Linked DNA regions of Homo sapiens: region 2 is linked to region 1. The links are contacts of gene promoters, found by promoter capture Hi-C in blood cells and fetal thymus (Javierre and others, 2016). All regions are on one chromosome and are shown on one strand. Each heading gives the region's core, a stretch centred on a gene start or on the middle of the fragment in contact. The rest is flanking DNA. Distances are from core to core; before and after follow the strand shown. Region 1 holds the start of ADGRG7 (adhesion G protein-coupled receptor G7). Region 2 has its middle 26 kb from the start of TMEM45A.

Region 1 (7,644 bases), core at 2,193-4,692:
TGGTGAGTGCCTGTAGTCCCAGCTACTCGGGAGGCTGAGGCAGGAGAATCGCTTGAACTCAGGAGGCAGAGGTTGCAGTGAGCCGAGATCATGCCACCACAGTCCAGCCTGGAGACAGAATGAGACTCCTTCTCAAAACAAAAATAAAACAACATCAACAAAAATTATCAATGCTATGAAGTCAGACCTTGGGGTTTGGGAATATTTCAACGTCCTGAAATCTCTTGCAGGACTGAAGAACAGGTGTATCCTGTGATAGAGAATGAAGGTTAGAATATCTGGAGATAAGCGGGGATAAAGAAAAAAACAGTCCTGGTGGCAAAGAGCAGGAAATTCTACGAACCAGAAGAGGTGTAGAATATGGTCAAGTAAGGCACTACTCATGTGTTTTGAGGTTCAGATACTCTCCCTTTGGGAGGAGTTAAAGAAAACATTTTCTACCATTATGATTGTGGACATCTGTCTATGATTATATCAGGCTTAGCACAAGTTGGAAAATGCCAATGGGAAGAAATATAATAAAGCTTAATTATGTTTTCATTTTACTTTCATCATCAAGAGTGAAGGGGCCCAAAAGCTATACTGCTTCTTGTGTTTTTCTATGAAGAATGCCCAATGTGAAAAGGCTGGAGTTCTGGCAAAACTGAGATTTTCTCTAAGTTTTTAGCATAGTACCTAGAACATAGTAAGAATTTTTAAAACTATAGGTATTATAATAATTAAATACATAAATAGCATAAATATTGTTGTACATCAGTGTTTACTGCCAAATCAGAGTAACTTCTTACTGAAATTTACTCAGAGCAGAATTTGAAATTTTTTTTTATTTTTCACAATGAGGCCATTACTTTTCCAAGAAAAATAAAAGTGAAAGAGACTTAATTTATATGTTCTTTTAATTTATATATATGTTACTCCAGCCTGGAGTGATTCTTCAAAATAAATTTTGAATGCAATAAAATTAATTTATGCAAAATTTTGTGTGTTTATATATATTTTCCCTACTAAGACATTTATAGCTTTCATCAGTTTCTCAGAGATATGTGTGACCTCTCTCCCCCTTAAAAAAATGTAAAAACAATTTATGTCTATACCTGAATAAAGGAACCCAAGCAAGAATATTCAACAATTACATAGGATGGGATGGGATAGGATAAAAAGAAGTGGAGTAGAGTGGAGTGGAGTGAAGTGAAAAGAAACAGAATTTACCAACTCAAATGCACTCTCAATAAAATGTACAAGGCAAAATAGTAACAGCAAATGGTGCCAGTCTTTCACTCTTTTTCTTTAAATGACAGTGAGAACCCTCTCCTTTTCCATCGGGTTTACCCCAAAGCTAAGAGATGACCCTTATATAAACAGCCAATTGAAATATGCTTCTCAGAACAAGAGAAAAGTTTTTCTTTTTGAGGAGCTGGTATGCCTCTATTGTTAGACATGGGATCTTTATTACTTATTATGCCTCCTTTTGGATCTTAGTACTCAGAAAGTTCGGGAATATATTTTGTATTTATTTTCAGCAACTCCCCCCAAGCCTTGAACTTTCAGGTTTTCTGTCCCCCATCCTGCACTCTTTCTCATGTTGTTTTTGTACTTTGGTCCTTGTTTTTAATGGTTTTGCTATAACTGTGTCCTTTATAAGTCATCATAAATTTCCCTTTAAAAATAGATGTCGCTTACATAAAGGAAAAAAGGAACGGGGGGAAGGAAGGGAGGAAGGAAGGAAGGAAGGAAAGAAGAAAGGAAGGAAGGAAGGAAGGAAGGAAGGAAGGAAGGAAGGAAGGAAGGAAGGAAGGAAAAACAAACAAACAAAACTTTGTGAAGTATGTCCTTTAAATGAGGTCTTATAAATTTGGCAGCCTTAATGGGGTAAAATCCATAGTTCATAATTTTTTAACCTGAATGAAACTATTTTACAACCTTAAACAAACAAAAACACATTTGCTCCAAGTTTAAATTTTACTATTTTTGTTCTGGTAAATTTTCTCATTCTAGTTCTCTAAATACTATCGATACAGTATTCTCTAAATACTGGTTAGGGCGGTGGGGTAGGGGGAGGACAAATCCATCCCCAGCTACCACTCCATCAGCAGCCAGTATGTCAGATCCCTCTGTTGGTCTTCAACACTGGATCTTTGCAGCCATGCTCCATGCTCCTGCTAGCTCCCCAACCTTCTGTCCTCCCCAGTTACCTGCTCAGAGGGCATACTGCCTCTCCTGCTGCCTTTCCCGATCGGCATTATTTACCCTTATTTATTGTTTCATTAGAAGCTTTCTCTGATTTTCACGAAAGGGAGTATGTAGCCCATCCAACATTGAATTCCTTTACGGAGAAGCTCTACAGCCCAAGGGATCCAGCATTAGGATCATTGAAATTTCGCGTTCTGAGTTCCAGCGGGCTTTTCTTTAACATCATTGTTTTACTCACTACTTCCCCTCCCACGTCCTCCTTTTCCAGGCCAGCTCTGGCACACAGCGGGGGACTAACAAATGTTCGTTGAATAATCAGGAAAGTCATTTAAAAATGGTTTTTAAATTTTTGATTAGTTTCCTACATCTGGAAAGTGGGAAATTTGTATGCAAACCATGAGATCATTTCACTTAAACCTTAGTGATGAGTTTCTTTAACTTCTCTCTTAAAATGAAATTCCATTCTGTGTATGTTTGATTGTATGTGTGTTATGCATGTGTGTGTATGTGTTTGATGCATGTGTGTGTCCTTGTTCATAACGATTTACCCTTTCCTGAATTTAGCCAAACAGACCTAAATGTGTGTTACTAATCGTTTTAATTATTACTCTTCTACCAATTCAGTCTGGAGTTAAAAGAGCATAAAGAGGCCAATTCAATTATGTCACTCTTCCCCCTGCCCACTCACACCCACACCTATTCATTTCTATTCAACCATCTGCTAGGCTTAACTGACTTGGTCTTTTATATCCCATAAATGGCACCTTGGTGGAATGCCTCAGACTGGACAAGGTACCTCCCAGTACTTGTGCACCAGGTGGCAGGGACAGAGGTCCCATACCTTCTCTTACTCTGAGTTAAACATAGCAGGACAACATTACCTCTTTGGATCCTGATCACAATCCTCCAGATGCCCAGTCCCAAAATGATGCCAGTCAGTAGTCCACACACGACAGCCACCAGCACCCTAAGGTTCCAGGCACGGCAGGAAGCCATGGTGAAGCCAAACCACAAATCCACTCCTGGGTGAGAAATAACTAGCTTCTTTTCTTCTTGAGCTAAAAAGTTTAATCGGAAACTATTCTAAAACAGAAAAACAAGTCCTCCCCTCAGTGATCTGTCAGATGGATGTCTTTGTATTTTAGGACTTTTGAGGCTAATCCAGTAGGATGCAGTTTGAATCTCCTAATAAAAGGTGCATACTCTGCTTTCAATTTCCTCATCCTTCACTCAAGGAGAACATGAAAAAAGTGATTAGAGTTATGGGAATAGGGAGATAACTCAGGGCAATAAAGAAGAAGGGGAGGGACTAGCCACAAGGGTCAAAGAGTGAATGCCCAGACAAGCCACAGAGTGAAGGAAGGGAACAAAATAGAAGAAACCAAAGAGGAAATCACAAAGGCAGTGGTTGCCAGTAGTCACCTATGGCTCGGCTTCCTGTATTTTTGTCTTGGGAGGGTACAGCAGAGATAGACTGGCAGGTGCTTCAGACCACACAAAACACTCTCTCGGGGAAATGAACTAGGTTGTCAATAAGAGGATAAATGGCAATCACCACACATGGTTTTTAGCGCTTGCATTTCTTTAAGGAGCCTACATTTTGACAGATGCAGTTGGTGAGTGTGCATACTGGCACAGGCTGGGTCTTGACAAGCACTAAAGCCCAGCATGATAACCCACCTGCTATGGGCTGAATTGTGTCCCCTCCAACATTCATATGTTGGAGTCCTAACCTTCGGTACCTCAGAATGAGGCCTCACATGGAGATGTGGTTACTGCAGAGGTGATCGAGTTAAAACGAGTTTGTTAGGGTGGTCACTAATCAATATGGCTGGTGTCCTCATAAGAAGAAGAAATCTGAACACAGACATGAATACAGAAAGATGATCTGAAGAGACAGAGAGAGAAGACGGCCATCTACAAGAGAGAGTCCTCAGAAGGAACTGGCTCTGCTGACACCTTGACTTGACTTCTAGCCACCCAAACTGTAAGACAACAAATTTATGTTGTTTAAGCCACCCAGTTTGTGGTACTTTATTAGAGCAGCCCTGGGAAACTAATACATCATCAGAGTAACTACAAACTGGTGTCTCTCTATAGATGCAGCTCTGACCCTCTCCTGCCCAGGCTCCCATGTTCTCCTTCCCTACCCTCTACCCTTACAGGGAAGAACAGATACATGAACATTCACCTCCTCAATCACAGTTTTGTTTTGGTAGAGAGAACAGATGCTCTGGTCTTCTCTGGACACTCCCTTGCTTCATCAAATCCATATTAAATGCCTTTAATGTGTTTGAATTGGTACAAGACATGAACAGGGTCCTCAAAGAACTCATAATTTCTCAGGGGTGAGATACCTAGATATAGCCACCTATAAGGCAAGTCATAACTGCTAAAATAAAAGATCATCATATTTAATTATTATGGAGTGCAGGTGCTCCTTGACTTACAATAAGATTACATCCCAATAAATCCACCTTAAGTTAAAAAATATCTTAAGTCAAAACGCATTAAATATACACCTAACCTGCTGAACATCCTTGCTTAGGCTAGCCTACCTTAAATGTGCCCAAAACACATACAATAGCATAAAATTGGGCAAAATCATCTATCACAAAGCCTATTTTATAATAAAGTGGCGAATATCCCATGTGATATATTGAATACTGTAGTGAAAGTGAAAAACAGAATGGTTGTATGGGTACCCCAAACATGGTTTCTACTGAATGCATATTGCTTTTGCACCATGGTGAAGTTGAAAAATCAGAAGTGAAAAAAACCATCATAAATTGGAAACCTATGTACTAGCCCGTTACTACCTACATACCAGCCCATTAATTCCTTCAGGAAGTATTCAGCAAGGCTTTACCAAAAAAGGCTTTACACTTAAACTGACCTTTAGTTAACCCCCAAACACTATGGGGGTTTCCAATTCTCTGTGACATTCACTTTATAAATGTTTTGCTATAAACATAAGGCCCTAACTTTACCCCTCCCAAGAATTTCAGAAAAACAAATTGAGGTAGCACAAAATGGAAGAACTTAGAAGTACTGCTGCAGAAGTACAACACAAATGAATGCAAACCCATTACCTCATTTACTGGGAATAGATCTTTAAAAATCTGTTTCTGATATGTCTGCATACACATGCACAGAAAATGTCTGGAAAGGTACATGAAAAAGTTCCTCTTGGGAATCTGAGGAATCTGAGGTAGGAGAGAGTTTTAAAATTTTATATCCCTTTTATAGTTTGAAGTTTTAGCCTTGTGTATTCTTTCTATTATTATAAATAAATATATATAACTTTTTCAATAATAAAACAATGGTTTTCAATAAATAATAAATAAATCTAAGAAAAGGAATTAACACCTATCATATGTGTAGTGTATACCAAGGATGGTGCTTTATACTTTACACATGTTTATCTCATTCACTCTGTGTAAAAGCCCCAGGTAACATAATGTGTTTGCCCTTTGCATGAATGAGGAAATGAGACTGAAACTGGTATTATTCTACACAGGAGCTTTATGGTTAAGTACCTTTGGATGAAGCCAGGTAACACAAAGTTAAACAGTTTTCTCCACTCTAGCATTTCTTAGAGCATTCACAATGTTCATGTCCATTGTGAACTGCTAGAGAAGACATGTATGCAAGTATGTTCTCAATGTTATTTGAACTCAGAATCCTCTTCTCAAGAAGGATCTCTCAGAGACAGGGTTCTTCAACACATGCTTTAGAAACACTGCCCTGTGTGGTCATCTGCAGAATGGTCTTAGTTGAACAGTGTGACTGAAGGAAGGGATCCTGGGTCTCAAGTTTGCCATCTGGTGATGGTGTTTTTCTCTTGTAGGGTTCTGAATCTTTTGAAGGGATTATAGTCTAATGACTAGAAAACTAATTTTGATGGTGATCACACATCCTCTCTTCCACAGTTGGTGGAAGTCCTGGAGTCCTGGGATGCTGTAATGACTGCTGCTTTATAGGGCTTCCATGTCCTTAGCCACATGACAAGGTTTATAAGGCTTGCCATCTATCCAGCTAGAAACTCCAGAAATTCATGGAATTGAAGAAATTCCTAGGCACAGAAATTAAGATGTTGACATTTATGTAAGGGCATTAATTACTACTGATAAGAGACAAATGTGTAAAGGGTCACCAGTATTTACACATACATACAATACACACATACCAAGATGACAAAGAAGAAAAGGAAAAGAGTTAAACAGGAAATAATTCATTTATTCTTTCATTCTACTCAATGCAGACATTGTGCTAGGCACTGGGGATAAAGTAGTGAACAAAAGACAAGATCCGTGTCTTCACCCAACTTACACTCAGGGAGAACTGGATTTGTACCGATGCTGCCACTAATTTGCTGTGTGACTCTGGGCAAACCGTGGGGCTTCCATTTCTTTATATTTTAAACAATCCAGTTGAGGCCTTCCCTTCCTGAACATTTCAGTTCTAAAGTCATTAGCTGAGGAAGAACAAGGCAGGTGTCTGTGGTAGGGGTAGAGTGGGGCAGTGGCCCAGAGTAGGTGTCAGAGCCCCAGTGCGGTAAAGAAAGCATTGATAGGCCAGGGCCAGTGGCTCACACCTGTAATCCCAGCACTTTGGGAGGCCAAGGTGGGCGGATCACCTGAGGTCAGGAGTTCAAGACCACCCTGGCCAACATGGCGAAACCCCATCTCTACTAAAAATACAAAAATTAGCTGGGTGTGGTGGCGCATGCCTGTAATCCCAGCTACTCGGGAGGCTGAGGCAGGAGAATTGCTTAAATCCAGGAGGCGGAGGTTGCAGTGAGCCGAGATGGCGCCATTACACTCCAGCCTGGCGACAGACAGAGAGTCCGTCTCAAAAAAGAAAGAAAGAAAGAAAGAAAGAAAGAAAGAAAGAAAGAAAGAAAGAAAGAAAGAAAGAAAGAAAGAAAGAGAGAGAGAGAGAGAGAGAGAGAAAGAAGGAAGGAAGGAAAGAAAGGAAGGAAGGAAGGAAGGAAGGAAGGAAGGAAGGAAAGAAGGAAGGAAGGAAGGCAGGCAGGCAGGCAGGCAGGCAGGCAGGCAAGCATTGATAAGAGGGAGACCTAGCATGAGATGCCAGAGCCCAGGCAGGATAAAGAAGGCATCAATAGGATGAGGGTGGGGGGAGGGGAGGGTGACCTGTCACGGAGAGACAGAGCCCAACCAAGCAGGGCAGGAGAGCACCCTGGGTAGAAAATCAAAGCCAGAGCAGGGAGAGGAGGGTGGCCTTCAGGGACCAAGAGCAGTCAGGAGGGCATCTAGGCAGGCCAGCAATGCAGTGCAGGAAGCCCGAGCCGGAGCTGAGTGGGGAGGGTGTCCACACGGAGTGGCCGCCTGAAACAGGGAGTCAGAGCCCAGACACAGAACCAAGGGGGTCCCCGCATGGATGGGCAGTGGTAGTGGAGCTAGTGGAGCTCAGAGACTGGCTACAAAGAGG
Region 2 (7,644 bases), core at 2,812-5,311, 140 kb after region 1:
GTCCCCATGCTGTGTGCAGGATTGGACTTAGTGCCCTGCGTCCCAGCTGCTCCAATCACAGCTGAAAGGGGCTGACGTAGAGCTGAGGCCACGGCTTCAGAGGATGGAAGCCTCAAGCCTTGGCAGCTTCCACATGGTGTTGAGCCTGTGAGTGCATGGAAGTCAAAAATTAAGATTTGGGAACCTCTGCCTAGATTTCAAAAGATGTATGGAAATGCCTGGATGCCCAGGCAGAAGCTTGCTGCTGGGGTGGGGCTCTCATGGAGAACCTCTACTAGGGCAGTGAGGATGGGAAACATGGGGTCAGAGCCCCTACACAGAGTCCCTGTTGGGGAACCACCTAGTGGAGCTGTGAGAAAACAGCCACCAGTCCAGACCCCTGAATGGTAGATTCACTGACAGCTTGCACTGTGTGCCTGGAAAAGCTGCAGACACTCAACACCAGCCTGTGAAAGCAATTGGGAGGGAAGCTGTACCCTGAAAATCCACAAGGGCAGAGCTGCCCAAAACCATGGAAACCCTCCTCTTGCATCAGCGTGACCTGGACATGAGACATGGAGTCAAAGGAGGTCATTCTGGAGTTTTAAGATCTGACTGCCCTGCTGGATTTCAGACTTGCATGGGTCCTGTAGCCCTTTGTATTGGCCAACTTCTCCTATTTGGAATGGTTGTAGTTACCCAATGCCTGTACCCATATTGTATCTAAAAAGTAATTAACTTGCTTCTGATTTTACGGGCTCATTGTTGGAAGGGACTTGCCTTGTCTCAGAGGAGATGTTGGACTGTGGACTTTTGAGTTAATGCTGAAATGAGTTGAGACTTTGGGGGACTGTTGGGAAGGTATGATTGGTTTTGAAATGTGAAAATACGAGATTTGGAAGGGGCCAGAATAACATAGTTTGGACCTGTGTCCCCACCCAAATCTCATCTTGTAGCTCCCATAATTCTCATGTGTCGTGTGAGGGACCCGGTGGGAGATGATTGAATCATGGGGATGGGTCTTTCCTGGACTGTTCTCATGACAGTGAATTAGTCTCATGAGATCTGATGGTTTTTAAAATGGGAGTTTCTCTGTACAAGCTCTCTCTCTTGCCACCACCACGTAAGAAATGCCTTTCACCTTCCACCATGATTGTGAGGCCTTCCCAGCCAGGTGGAACTAGAAGTCCTTAAAAGTCTTTTTCTTTATAATTTTCCCAGTCTTGGGTATGTCTTTATCAGCAGTGTGAAAACCAACTAATACACAAGGCTAGGAAAGCATGCAGTTTCTAGGGACCAATAAACAGGCATAGCTGGAAGAAAAAAATAGATTTTGAGAGGGATCTATCCACTTTCAATTCCTGGGGTTCTATGAGGAAAACAGAGGTTTCTTCCCAAAATGGGGTCAGTGGCACTCTCTCTGTTTTTCCCAAAGAGTCCCATGTGCCGAGAAGTTATCTACGGCCTCTCATGTGTGCATTAAGAGTGGCAAGACAAAATGGAGAAAAGTAATTCAGTCAACTGAGAAAAAAACCTTTTCCAGAAAAACATAAAGGTCTCTTAAATATACCTATAGCTTTGATATCCACTTTTAATTAAGCTGAGCATTCTTTAAGAAAATCCTTTTAAATCCCTTGTTACCCAACCTTAGCCATGTGAACCCGCCAACATTTCTGGCTTTTGAACTTTACCAAAAGTAACCTCACAGGTGAAACCAACAAGCTTCAATTAAGGTTATGACTTAACTATGAATGTATGAGGTATATATTCAAAAAGGTGGTAAGCAGTTTTTACAAAATCTAGAACCTCTAAAGGTAACTCAGAGAATGGAAGCTAGAAGTTGTTCATGGATGGGAAGAGAATCAGCAAATGGTAGAAGTCACACAGCTGTTTACTTGAAAGTACTCATTCTCCAAGCCAGGATTGAACACAGGCCACCATTGTAAAATGGCAGAGACTAAAGTTAAGTACTGCCACGTGGTTACATTTCAAGCTCCCAAGGACATAAAACAATATGGTGGCCTGCAGCAAAGTTTGATACTGACCAGTTTGTTGGGCTAACTTGAACAGCAGGCATATAGGGTCCTAGGCCAACATTCTATCCTAAGGCACCCCTCTTTCTGACAGAACCATACAGAAAAACACACAAAGCACACCAGATTGGCTATAGCTTAAGACAAGCCTCATAAATCATTTTTCATTAATCAAAACTTTATGGAGAATATAAGCAGTTATCCTCACCATTTTTTCTATCGGTTTGCACAGCAAGAGTGAGGCCAAAAGACTTTGGCCTAACAAGGCCAAAAGTCTGACTGGGTAAAAAAAAAACTTTTACCCTTTTGCTGGCATGTCAGGCTTCTGGGTTCCCTTCCCCTGAGCTCAATTCTAAGCCAAGCAGTTTAAGGTTTGGTAAATTAATTTTTCCTAGTTTAGAGGATGCATCTGAGGAGAGTGTCCTATAGTATGGGGATGCAATTACCCATCCACAAAGAGAGGACAGAGGAGGAAAAAGGAAAAAGAAGGCTTTTTTTCCAAGATGCCCCCCCAGGACTCAGGATGCATTCAAGGGGGGTACGAACTAAAGATGAATGGTTCTTTAGACAAAAGAACTGCCTCAGTGGGTGCATGGACTAAAACAGAGCAAGTGCTACTGACCCCATTTTGGGAAGATGAATTGTTACCCAGCTGGGAAGAGTGGATAAGCCATCCCCAATTCCTTTTACTTCCCAGTGAATACCCAGGGTACATGAGGGAGAGAAAAAATAGGCATCTCTTTTCTTTCTTATGTCCTTGTATCTGAGTCCCAGCGACCTTGACAAGGTGCCACCCATGGGTGCCAATGTGGCTTTCACTCATAGTAACAGAAGGGCCAAGGGGGTGGGAATATTTGAACTCACCCACATATGCCCTGTCCCTGCCTGTTGTCATAACCTTTGAGTTCCCTAGGCCTCATTTATGCCATGGATACAGGCATGACCTCTATCCATGAAACAGGAGGCTTGGTTTGATTGGCAGGAATTAGCCATGGTCACTTATGCTTTGCATTTTAACTTCCATTGTTGTCTGCCTCTGGACCCCTCATATTCAATTTTCTATCCTGAGTCTTCAACTCTAAGCTTGGAATTGAGTTTGGGACAAAAGAACTGCCTCAGTGGGTACATGGACTCATCAAGTCCCAGGTGTCCCTCGCCAGACTGCAGCCAGCAGCCAGCGGGACTGCTCCTCTGCTGCCTCCTTACCATAAGCCAAATGCTAAGGTAAAGCTGAGGAGCTGGGTCCTCTTCAAACAAGGGAGCGAAAAAGGGTGTCCTGTGGCCTAACAAGATGCCTTCCAAAAGGAGGAAAAAAAACTCTTGCATAGAAAACTCCCTATATCTACAGGGCTGTGTTAACTGCTGACAGGGTGGAGAAAAGGAAGAAAAAAAAGCTTAAGTTCAGGGCTGGGAAGATGCCTTGGGTAGAAACCTCTTATTTATTCTTATGCAAGTGGGTTTCTTCAACAGGAAAAGAAACTTTTAATTGCTGTCTCCTCCTTCTTGGCTCAGCAAGGGGAGGAAAGACTCCTTGGGCACCTAGCAGGAGGGGACGGCAAGTGAGAAATGCTGGCCAGCCAGCCATGAGGGACCCTTGTGCTGTGTGCCCCAGCCAGGAGGGGAGCAGGGCAGGGAGCTTGCCAATCTGTCTTGTGTGCATGCCTGTGGCCATTGGGGTGGGGGTGGAACATGCCCACTAAAAGATAGGTGCCATTACAGTCCTGAAAAAAGAAGGAAAATGCCATAGAAAAGACTGGGTTGGACAAAGGCCAACATTCCTGACCCCTGAGAGCAACAGGGGGGCAGGGGGCAGGTTGCAGTATCCCCTGCCTTCCGAAAAAGTCTGAGGATAAGAAAGCTCAGAAACAAAAGTGAAAGAGATTGTTGGGTCCACATTTTACTCAACCTTCTGACAAATGCCAGACAAGCCTCCAAAATGATGCAGAATTTTTTGCTCTGAACTAAGGTTCAGCTTGGTCTGGGTTCTTGTCTCACAATCAGGAAGAAGTAGATACATGGACACTGGAAGAGTGAGCAAGGCAGGAAGTTTTACTGAGTGATGAAACAGCTTTTAGTGGGGAAGTTACACAGGGGTAGTTCCCCTGCCTGAAGGTAAGAGAGTTTCCAATATGGCTGAGCCCAGGGCTTTTTATGGGCTCAGAATAGGGAGTGCGTGCTGATTAGCTTGTGAGTATGCAAAAAAGTCAAAGACACCACTTAAAAATGGGCATGATAGTGTAGGAAACCAATTAGGAAAGGGTAGGTATATGTAAAATAGTTGAAGGCTGAGTATCAATCAGAGGAAAGCACGCCAAACAGGAGGGCGGGTTCTCAATCTGGTTCAAGGATTTACCTGGGACTGTTTCTGACTTGAAGGTTGAATTTCACCGGGGACCCACCCCTACCTGCCTAGGTATTTATCAACAAGGCTGCAATCAAGTTGTCAGTCATGTGAAGCTCGATTAAAGAAGGATCCATTTCCAAGTTCACATGGCTGTTAGCAGGATTCAGTTCTTTGCAGGTTTTCAGAATGAGGGCATTTCCTTGATGACTACTGGCAAGAGGTCACCCTCAATTCCTTCCCCACGGGCTTCTTCATATGGCAGCTTAAACCCCCTTATACATATATAGTTTGCAAATATTTCTTCCCAATCTGTAGGTTGCCATTTCATTTTGTTGTTTCCTTTGCTATGCAGAAGCTTTTTAGTTTGATATAGTCCCATTTATTTATTTTTGCTTTTATAGTGAGCTTTTGGTATGATATCCAAAAAATTACTGCCACTGCCAGTGTCCAAAAACTTTTTCCCTTTGTTCTCTTTTAGGAAATTTATAGTTTCAGGTTTACATTTAGGTATTTTATCAATTTTGCAAAACTCCTAATTTTGGTACATAGCATCTGTTACAGTCAGCCCTCTGTATCTGTGGGTTCCACATCCAGGGATTCAACCAACCATGAAAAAATATTTGAGAAAAGATAAATGGTTGTGTCTGCCCTGAACATCCACAAATTTGTTTTTCTTTTTATTATCCCCTAAATAATACAGTATAACAACTAGTTATATAGCATTCACATTGTATTAGGTATTATAAACAACCTAGAAATGATTAAAAGTACAGTTATTATTCCTTGTTATATGTGGGGGATTTGTTCCAGGACTCCCAAGTACACCAAAAGCCATGCATACTCCAGGTCTTGAAGTCAGCCCTTTGGAACCCACGTATAAGAAGAGTTGGTGCTCCATATACACTGGTTTGACATTCCTCAATAATGTATTTTCCATCTGTGTTTGGTTGAAAACATCTGCTTATAAGTGGACCTGCACAGTTTAAGCCAACATTGTTCAAAAGTCAACTGTATACAGAACGATATGCATAGGTTATATGCCAATGCTACACCATTTTATATAGGAAACTTGAGCATCCATGGATTTTGGTATCCACAGGGGGTCCTGGAATCAATCCCCTATGGATAGTGAAGGACAGCTGTGTATCTTGATGCCTCAGCCAAAATCTCAATATAAGCATTCTGTTTTGTGTATATGTCTATTTTTCCAACAAAAATTGAAGTTCCTTGAAGGCAAGGACTGTGTCTCACTCATCTTGGTGTGCCCCACCTATTACGCTGCAGTACATGCAGCCCTTAGTAAATATCCATGAATTAGCAAAGCAGAGAGGAAACTGTTTCAAGATGTTTATAATACTTAAGAAATGGCTTTGCTGGCTGGGCATGGTGGCTCACACCTGTAATCCCAGCATTTTGGGAGGACAAGCTGGGCTGATCACTTGAGGCCAGGAGTTCGAGACCAGCCTGGCCAACATGGCAAAACCCCATCTCTACCAAAAATAGAAAACTTAGTCAGGCATGTTGGGGCATGCCTGTAATCCCAGCTATTAGGGTGGCTGAGGCAGGAGAATCACTTGAACCCGGGAAACAGAAGTTGCAGTGAGGAGATCGCACCACTGCACTTCAGCCTAGATGACAGAGTGAGACTTTGTCTCAAAAAAAAAAATGCCTTCACTGTTGTTTCATTCATTATTTCTTTCACTCATTCAACAAACCTATTCATGCACCATGCTGTTTGCCAAGAGGATATTCTCAACTTAGAAGGAGAGTACCATAATTTCTTTTCCCACTTCAAGAAACTCTTCTTTGTCTTCTAGCCACAGAGCTAACAATGACTAATGACGGAACTTTGGGAAAGCAGCATGCTAATATGTCTGAAGTGGCATAGCAATATTGCCTCTGTGATGTATCCCTCCCTGAAATTGTCACACCATGTGATTCACTCAAAACCTTCCAATAGCTTCCCATGACACTTAGAATAACAACCACCTAGGTAACAGATTATCCACCCTTTGCATTTTCCAGCTTCGTTTTCCATTGCACACCTGTCATGCACTCCTTTCCAGGAATATGTTGCTATTTTTAAAAGAAGCCAAGCAAGCTCTTACCTTAGTGCCTTTACACTGCTGCGCTGCTGCCTGAGACCCTTTTCCCTCATTTCATTCATACCTCAGCTCAAATACCACCTCATCAGACAGGCTTTTTTGGAAACTCACTCTTAAAAAGCATTCCCGTTATCTCTATTTCCTAACTGTTTTTGATTCTTCATGACATTATGCTATATTTTTCTTTGATTTTTGTTTACCATCTGACATGGTTTGGCTCTGAATCCCCACTCAAATCTCATCTCGAATTGTAATCCCCACGTGTTGAGGGAGGGAACTGGTGGGAGGTGATTTGATCATGGGGGCAGTTTCCCCCATGTTTTTCTCATGATAGTGAAGAAGCTTTTAAGAGATTTGATGCTTACACCTGTAATCCCAGCCCTTTAGGAGGCTGAGTGGGGAGGATCATTTGAGCCCAGGAGCTCAAGGCTGCAGTGAGCTATGATCACACCACTGTACTCCAGGCTGGATGACAGACTCTAAAAAAAAAAAAAAGAAAGAAAGAAAGAAAAGAAAAACGTAACGATAGTGATTTTGTCTTTGGCCAAACACTGAGGCTTGCGTCCAGCATTACCTGTCCAAATGCTGGTTCAAGTCTGCCCCCTAGAGTAGAGTAACCAGAATGTCTTGACAGTAATAATGAGCTGTATTAAGGTCATAACAACACTTGGCTTTTCTGGGAGGCTGTCATACTGTTTTCTGCATTACTTGAAAGTGTGTCAGCTATTACTTTTATAAGCAAAAAAAGTTTCCATTTTAGGAGGGAAAATATCAACTCCAAATACAGTTTTTCATTGTGAGAGAGTCATCTATGACAGTGTTTGGCCTACAATAGGCAGAATTAATTCAAGTTTTAGGGTCCTGCTTGTTTAGAGTCACACTCTCAAACTGTATATGGTCGTCGCTCAGTATGCACAGGAGGTTGGCCCAGGATCCTCACAGATACCAAAATCCGATGATGTTCATATCTCTTATATAAAATGACATAGTAATTGCATATAACCTATTCACATCTTCCTACATACTTTAAATCATCTCTAGATTACTTATAATACCTAACACAATGTAAACACTATGCAAAAAGTTGCTATACTGTATTGTTTTTATTTGGATGGTCTTTTATTGTTGTATTATTATTATTATTGGTTTTATTTTTGAATGTTTTTGATCTGTGATTGGTCGA

The links. The method cuts DNA at HindIII sites, captures the fragments that hold promoters and counts their contacts. A CHiCAGO score of 5 or more calls a contact.
Region 2: a fragment that was not itself captured here is called in contact with the fragment with the promoter of ADGRG7 in region 1 in 1 of 17 cell types (endothelial precursors); the score reaches 5.9 in endothelial precursors.

What each region holds. Positions count from the first base shown.
Region 1 is chr3:100,605,399-100,613,042 of GRCh38, reverse strand. It overlaps ADGRG7 (adhesion G protein-coupled receptor G7), which reads right to left and starts at 3,442. Exons shown (of 16, transcript NM_032787.3): 1 at 3,072-3,442. The coding sequence starts at 3,186. The HindIII fragment of the contact is 7,171 bases long and covers 2,274-7,644 here.
Region 2 is chr3:100,462,534-100,470,177 of GRCh38, reverse strand. No RefSeq gene overlaps it. Among named protein-coding and RNA genes, the nearest start is that of TMEM45A, 26 kb to the left of the region's middle. RefSeq lists enhancers at 3,654-4,154, 3,884-4,193. The HindIII fragment of the contact is 1,305 bases long and covers 3,409-4,713 here.